Linked DNA regions of Homo sapiens: region 2 is linked to region 1. Evidence: promoter capture Hi-C in human tissues and cell types (Jung and others, 2019). All regions are on one chromosome and are shown on one strand. The core of a region is centred on a gene start or on the middle of the fragment in contact, and the rest is flanking DNA. Distances in the headings are between cores, read along the strand shown.

Evidence for each region. The method cuts DNA at HindIII sites, captures the fragments that hold promoters and counts their contacts. A contact is called where the count stands out against the background at its distance.
Region 2: a fragment that was not itself captured here is called in contact with the fragment with the promoter of GRM8 in region 1 in 3 of the 25 tissues and cell types used here (hippocampus, neural progenitor cells and psoas muscle).

The regions. Positions count from the first base shown.
Region 1 is chr7:127,250,577-127,254,742 of GRCh38, forward strand. GRM8 (glutamate metabotropic receptor 8) reads right to left here and starts at 2,365. Exons shown (of 11, transcript NM_000845.3): 1 at 2,221-2,365. RefSeq lists an enhancer at 3,203-3,452 and a silencer at 3,573-3,632. The HindIII fragment of the contact is 12,389 bases long and covers 1-4,166 here.
Region 2 is chr7:127,189,760-127,193,925 of GRCh38, forward strand. All of the region lies in intron 2 of GRM8 (glutamate metabotropic receptor 8), which reads right to left. Among named protein-coding and RNA genes, the nearest start is that of GRM8-AS1, 23 kb to the right of the region's middle. The HindIII fragment of the contact is 3,064 bases long and covers 814-3,877 here.

The DNA.
Region 1 (4,166 bases), core at 1,115-3,614:
AATTGCATTTTAAAAAACCTTGGTTCATTTTCCCTGACGGAGGAAGCTTTTCTTTTCAAAATTATCAAGCCACACGTTTTCAAGAACCAGAGAATGAATTGCACACAGCTGATTCTGCCTCCTACAGAGATCTTTCACGGTATTATTCACAAGCAAGTGACCAAGGTAAACTAAAGTGGTTTCTGTAGCCATTTGCAATTATTGACAAACAATTTCATAACGGAAAGTGGAAATTACAGGCAAGTGCAATAAGCTGTTTATCCACGATCTACCTGCTGGTGGCTCTTTTTCTCTATTTTTCTTTCAAGCAAAATACAAGCTACCATAGGAATGCTTTTCTCCCGTTCATGATTTTTCTTGTATCTCCACCACCAACCCTGTTTTCCAGTTCTGTCAGTTGGCAGGATTTGTATTCAATCGCGGTAGTAGCCCAGACTCTAGTGTATTCTTGGGTGTTCCAGAGACTCCCGCACCTTCAGGTTTGTGGGAAAGGATCCCCCAAATGGCAAATAAGGCACTCCCTCCCGGGGTGGGACTTGCTTAGGGGACTTAAGGGTTTCTGCAACCGGCGAGGGGGTCTGTTTTCACCCCCGCTATCTTGGGTGCGCAGACACTCTCTGACACCAGGCTTCACAGTTTGGGCCACGGGGGAAGTAATTCCCCAGGGAACCGCGGGGGTGCGGTTTTGCGCAACTGGGTGACTCGCGTGTCCCTCCGCATTTCATTTGCACCAAGGGAGCGCGTGTCAGACGAAGGGAATTTTTTTTTCTTTTTTGGTGATTCTGTTATTTTTTCACCAACTGTACGAAGCTCAAGGGATATCCGAGCTTTCTGGCTGGGCGGATGGGCTTCGCGCTTGGCATGGCTGAGCGGTCCATCTCTACCTCTCCGTTTCTATCTCTACCATAACAGCGACCACTCAGCCCGCCAGGAGCCCCTGTTTCCCAGCGCAGGTTCCTTTTTCTTCTCAGTTCCTTGGGCTGTTGAAGCCGGGTTCTGGGTAGATAGAGACTGGGGCCGTGGGGAGAGCGCCAGGCTGCTTTTGCCTTTCCCGCGCCCCGGGGCATTCCGGCGCGCTGGGGATGCAGCCTCCGCCCCCGCCGCACCTGGCCGCCCGAGCGCCCGCGCCCACGCCCCGCGCGGGGCCGCCCGAAACTGGGGCCGCGCCAGCCGCGGGAGCTACCGAGGAGCTGTTGGGGTGCGTTTGCCTTTGCTTTTTAAACAAGATCCCCGAGACCTTTTCTCCATCCCCCCAACCCCCAGCAGGACACGGAACTCCGGCGTTTCTCGAAAGCCACAAAAGAGGGGCACGGAAATCCCAAGCTCGCCGTGCTAACTCGGAGAACGCAAACTCGAGGCAGAGCGTGCGCCGTGCGGGGATGTGGGTGTCGAGGACCCCGAAGCGCCCGGCTTCCCCCGCGACCCCCATCCTCCCTAGATCCTGGTTAGACATCCATCCAGCCCACGCTCAGAGGGCGGGGGTTACCCCGACTCATCCCGGAAGCCGCTAACTTCAGAAATCCCTCCTGTTAGGTTCGCGAAACGAAGGTACCTCGTCATCTCGGCGGGGCAAGTCCGGATTCCACCAGGGCAGGTCCGGGAGGTCACCCAGGGCAGACGATCCGAGGCAGAGCGCTTTAAAATCCTGCCGCCGCACGCCCAGTCAGAGCGCCGAGCGCGCCTGCCCCCTTCCCGTCACCCTTCAGTCTCCCATTCGCCGACTAAACTTTTGGGGGATCACATCTCCAAGCCTTGGGAGTTCCGGGTAAAGTCTCCCTCTTTTCTGAACCTCTTTACTGTAATGTAATCATGGGCAGACAAGAGGGGTGGCTGCCTTGTTCTTTGCAACGTAAAATCAACAGACACCCAATCAAGCTCCAATGCCCGGCCAGCCCCTCGCCCCCTGGTGCCCACTCTCCTTCTCCCCCCATTCCCGTCACCTCCGCCCGCTATTTCTCTCACAGACTACGGACATGCAGGGCCATCTACTTGTGCTCAGGAAAAACAAATCACTAGAGTGATATGAGAAGGAATGGTGCACCTGGCTGTCCGCTGAAAGGTTTTAGAGAAGAAAACGGAAAGGGGAATAAAACGGGGGGATTCTCCTTTTCCAACAAGCAGGGCGTTTTGGGGAAGTTTGGGGGCCAGGGGCTTTTTGTCCCGTGGTTCGGCACTTGCTTTCCTCGGAGCCGCTTTCTGCTGCCGGGCGGCGAGTCTTACCCTGCTCCCCGCAGAGGGCGCGGTGAGGAAGCCCGCCGGGGGCCCGCAGCTCCATGTCAGCGCCGCCGCCGCCGCCGCCGCCGCCGCGTGAGGCGAGCACAGCGGCCGCACTTGTGGCTGATCTCTGGGCTGAGGGGGCTGAGCTGGCCTAGCAGGCGCCAAGTCTCTTCCATGTGAATAACAAATACTCCCACCGGCGGCCGCGATTGGTCTGCGCCCGGCGCCTCCCGATCCTCCGCCCGCGGCCATTCACCCGGCGCGGCGCGGGGAGCCGCGGCCAGGATCGCGCCCGGGATCGCCAATCGCTTCGCGCCAACCAGTCACCTCGGGAAGCGGGAGGAGGAACCCCCGAGGGGCGGGAGCCTCTGGATTTCGGTGTCACCCAGCGGCCCTGGCGCGGGCAGGGAGGGGGACCCTCGGCCCGCGGATCCCCCTCCGCTCTTCAGCCTGAAGCGACGAGGAGACCAGAAATGTCAATAGTTCTGATTTTTAAAAATCATCCCCCCTTCCCCGCCCCCAAGAAAAAGGGGAGGACCCAACTACAGAGTGAGAGGGTGGGAAGAAGCGGGAGCGGTAGAAGAAGGAATATGGTTGTGGAGGAGCCCAGCGGCTCCGGCTGCCTGGCGAGCCCGGGACCGGCGCGGGGAGGCGCGACGCCCGCCCGAGCACAGCGGGCAGCACCCGCGAGCCCGGGTCCCCGGTGAACACAGCTCCAGAAAGCGTCACCGAGAATAACACATGGTAGATGACAAGTGTCCCGCCACATGCTTTCTTTTCGGGAATGCTTAAAGTAGAGCCGGCAAGCCGCGCGGTTCCCTTGCAAAGTTTGCCTGGCGCCGCGCGGCGGTTCCGCCATTTGTCCCGCCCCGCGGCTCTGGCGATTGTCTCCCCACTCCCCGCCCCCGAGGGTCTGAGGGACGCGTGCAACAGAGTCCCCAGGGCTCGAGGTACCACACAGCGCGGTCCGCTGCGGGCACTGCGCAGGAAGGGGCATGGGTGGCTACCGGGACGGTCATTTTATTGAGATGATTCAAGGAGCCGCAGACGCGGGGCAGGAAACTCCGGGGGAGCCGTGCTCGGGTTCTGCAGGGAAACCTCGGGATTCCCTTCGCATGCCGCATGCGGAAACCTGCCGGGCTCGACGTGCACAGTCCAGCGCTCCTCCCCACTAGTTACTGCCCAGGCCCCCCGATCCTGCACCCGCCGGAATGAGAGAAAGTAGCCCCTCGCCGCCCAGCTCCCGGGTAGCTGCTCCGGCCGGGCCTTGCGTTGGTGAGAAAGTTCCATCTAGAGGCGGCCGCGCGCAACTGCAGGCGGCGCCCTAGGCCCGGGCGAGCCAGGGAGAGCGGGGCGCGGGGGGAGAGGGGGCAGCCCAGGAGATAAGGAGGATGGAGAAGGACGGGAGAGACCCCGAAAAGGCAAGCTCTAGACCCCCGTTCGGCATCTCTACAATGAATTTTATCTTCCTAAGCATCATGAACTTATAAGCATTATGTCAGGAATCTTTCATTAATTCCTGTATATATCGCCTGTTCTGTTCGGGTTATTTTAATTTTCACATCAACTCTGTGAGATGGTCAAAATTATTAAGCCCACTCTACAGATGGAGGCAGAAGCCGAGGCTTAGAGACACGGCTGGAAAGTATTACAGCCAGAAATCAGTGTCTGGCTTCAAAACCCCATAGCACTTCCTCCCTGGTGGTGTTGGCTTTTCCCAAGGCTGGTTGTAATGTGCGAAGTTTCGATTGAGGAAACAGCTGTCTCTCTCCTAATTTCAAAAAAGGACCCTTGCCCTTTGTCACTTAGAAAAAATCTACAGGTTTTCAGCCCAGGGCACCTCTTCCCCTTTCGTTCCCTTCCTTCTCCCATCTCATGAGAGGCTCTTTGATTGTTGAATCATTATTTTATAGCTGCAACCACAAAAGAGGGAGGGAGGAGGATTTGGA
Region 2 (4,166 bases), core at 1,096-3,595, 61 kb before region 1:
TGACCCCCAGGAGCCAATCAGTCCCCTCAAATTTATACTGTTAGGAGAACCTTTTGAAAGAAAGCAACCAGCTTACAGCAACTCATCCCCACTGCTGGAAAAATACAAGTCAACATATTTTGACCTCTGATGGTAGAGCCGCAAAACTAATGTATCAGATATCTACTTCCATAATAGTACTGCATAACAAAGAGCCACAAAAACCTCAGTAGCATTCAGCAATAAGCATGTATTGTTTATGCCTGGGCCAGCTGAGGGCTGGCTAGATGGCTCTGCTAATCTTGGCCAGACTTGTTCACGTCTGCAGTCAGCTGGCAGTTAGCTGATATCAGCTGGCCTTGGCTGGGGAAACAGGGATTCCTCTGCCCTGTTCCACGTATCTCTCATCCTCTAGAGCAGGCTATGCAGACATGTTGTCATGGTGATGGAAGAGAAGCTTGCCACTAGAAATACACAAGGGCTCTTGAGGTCTAAGCTCAGAGCTGGTATACCCTCATCTCTACCTCATTCTAGTAGCCAAAGCAAGCCACACAGCAGAGCCCAGGAACAGAGAATTGTTAATATGTCCTGCCTTTGGAGTTCGAGACCAGCCTGACCAACATGGTGAAACCCCATCTCTACTAAAAATACAAAAGTTAGCCAGGTGTGGTGGCACACACCTGTAGTCCCAGCTACTCAGGATGCTGAGACAGGAGAATTGCTTGAACCCTGGAGGCAGAGGTTGCAGTGAGCCGGGATCGTGCCATTGCACTCCAGCCTGGGCGACAGAGCGAGACTCGGTCTTAAAAAAAAAAAAAAATGTCCTGCCCTCAGTGGAAATGAACTGTAAAGTTAAATGGCAAAGGAAGTGGTACAGGGAGAGATGGAGAATTAAGACCAGTGATGCAGTCTACCCCAGGTATATTTACATAAAAATAAAAAGCAGAGTATTATGAATTTATGAATTGCAAAGATGGAACCCATGCATATTTATAGATTCTGAAGTAACCAAACTAAAAGACAGTGCTTATTTTTTCTAATAAATATCTAGCTCAGACATTATTTTTTTAACTCATTCTTATTGTCATTATAATTAGTTAAATATTAGCTTGAGGTAAAAAAAATCATGCTGTGAATGAATTGATTTCTTTCTTCTATGGGTATTCTTTAGTCAAATGGTCTGGTAAAACACTTTTATGAGCTACTAAAAGCTTTGAACGTTTATGTAAGTCTATGACAACAGTACATTTTTCCAATTTTTACAGAGGAGAATTAAAATATCCTATCTGATATAACAAGGATTATGAATAGATTAAAAAATTATTTCAGTATTTTAAATTTAATACTCTCATTTAACAGGTTTGACAAAATGAAAAGTATTAGATTCTGATTCCTAGATTTGTATTTCTCATCTGATTCAATTATGTAAGCTTATATTTTAGAAATGCCAACTCCTTTACATCAGGGCCAAGACTAAATAACTCTGCAATATCAGAAGAAGCGTCACATTGAAAGAATGCTGAAATGAAATTACATTTCATCTCTACAAAAGTCAGAGTCTCTATTTCTGGGTTCAATGCATTTGACAGTTTAACTACCTACATTGTTTTTATCATATAAAAAAGGAGAGTGTTTTAATTTCAATCCCTTAACCTTCTAGCAATGAAATAGTTCCAGAGAATATAATGAATATAAAAGGGGTCAGTGTTCAAATTATATTCATTTATAGCTAATTGGAAAGTTTCTTTTGTTGCTGAAGACCAGGACCTTTTTCCTGTCTATCTGCTAGTGACTATCACTCTGATGCCTTAATCTTCAAGTGGACATTCTCTTCATTCAGTGCAATTATAGTAACCTGAAAGGTAATGTAGTCTCATAAGAGATATGCCATCATCACACAGATTTATGGGCAGAACCACATCCATAAAATTTAGAAAATTGCTTGTGTACTACCAGCCTATTTTGCCTGTTAATATAAATAATATTTTCAACATTAGCTACCAAGAGGACAAATTTCTCATAACTGACTTTCTGCTTAATTCTGTCAGATAATCTCTGCTGTAATATGATGAAGAATATACTGTGAAGAATTTCTGACAAGCTTCGTTTTTCTAGGGTGTTTTGCTGAAGAGGCCCAATCTGTTGTTTATTTGGGGCTGGTACCGCATTAAATTGATTTAGGGACACCATTTTCCATTTTTCTATCTTCCATGCTCTGTTAACTTATGTCATATTTATTACAACTCTTGGTTTTGCATGTATGTTTCAATTTGTGGTAGCAAACTGATGAAACACGTTTCTCCCCTTTTTTGTAAAATGGTGTTTAACAACTGCTACTCCTATTAATGTATTGCCACCTTATAAGTAAACTCAACATGAAGAGATCTACACAATATTCTGATTAAGAAATTCTACCTGGGGCACAGAATATATGTGAAATACCTTTTCAAATAAAAACTTGGAGGAAGTAAACAGAGCAAATGCATAAAAGAAGAACATATGTTTTATGCTACCAAATTATGCATCATTATTTTGAATAGCTAACCAAAGTTTGTTACAGATACTAAAGCTTCGTTTAAATTTTAGTCCATTTGCAGTTTGTCATTGTTGTTTAAAATTCCTCAGGCAGGGGTGTGAGTGGAGGAAGTTACTTCTCTAGGGAGATGAACTCTAAAATCTTGTTTCTGGGAGATACTGCAATTTGTGGTCTCAGATTCTAGACTATTCCAAAGAAAGCTCTCTGAGCTCCTGTGTGTTAATTTATGACATATCTGCTCTCACCCGATAGGTTTGTGCTTTATCACGAGTCTCAGGGAGCCCATCAGGGCTCACAAAGGAAAGAAGTCTGAGACACATAAAAAATATATGACTCCAAGCCAGGGAGCACTTTACGTTGTACACAGCAAAGGAACCCCTGGTACCACTGAACATGAAGGTCATGTTCTACGCAAGTACAAGGACTGGGCTGCCATCCTTACATTCTTCATGTTATTAAAACAAAATGTCTAATCATGCCTGAAGCTGCCCAAAGCCTTGTTGGCGAAGAGATATCAAGCTGGAACACAGCAAGTCCACACCTTCTGCTTTCACCCACTCCCACTTTCTGTATGCACACTCTGACCCTGCTCTGGCCAGACTGACCTATTTATCCCCTTCCCCTAAAGGTATCTCATGTTTCCCACCTTCAAGCCTCTCCACACCTATATTTTACTCATCTTTTAAGGTCCAATTTCTTAGAGTACTCCAAATCCAAAGTCAGTGCGATCTCCAGAGAGAAACAATACTTTTAATTTCTCTACTGTCCATATAGCTACCATAAGACTTATGTAAGTATTCACTGTTTCCCTAATAGATTACACATTTTCTAAGGATAAAACCATATTTGAATGTCCAGTTATGCTCCTAAGTGGCTAACATTGAGCCTTACTCAAAGTAAATGCATAACACAAATTTGTTTTTATGCTTTTAATACATGTTGGTATTTTTAATATTTTTCTTCTCGACAAAAGAACACAACATCATCATACATACAACCTTCAAACATAAATGAGAATGTAAAAGCCATAACCTCCATCAATGTCCAATCAAAGTGCTGGTCAATGGAAGAGAGAGTTTACACCATTGACCCAAGCATATGTTTCAGGCTGTGGTGAAGCTTGAAATTTTCATATCATTTATTTGCTGGATGACCCAATTAGGTCAAAACCTACTTTTCTTTATTGGAATGAATCCCCTAGCAGGTAGGTCAACTCCGCAGGACAAAGCTTCTAAGCAAATGTGAGGTCGGTTAATTCTCATATCAACTCTAATTTGCAGCAAGACTCCCATGGCATTTCAAGAGGCTTTGAGTCTTTCTGAGGCTTAAAGAGTGAGGTAGTAGCTTCTTTTGAGCAATTGGTAATACTTTGGGTCAAGAACGGTAGCTATGGAACATATCCTAATAATCACCTTCTCAAATGTTACAGAGTCTTGCAAGTGACAGAAAAAGATGGAAAAAAATACTCTCACAGTTTAGGAAACTGCTTTCATAAGCTTTGGCATCTCTAAAACTTAGATTCCAGCCCATCCAAAGAGCTCTTTCTGCAGTATCTGTTTTCAGGAAACATTTTCATCATTGATCCAAGCATCAGAAAACAAAAACAAACATAAAAATACAACATAAGATCCCAAAAGCATCAGCATTCAAT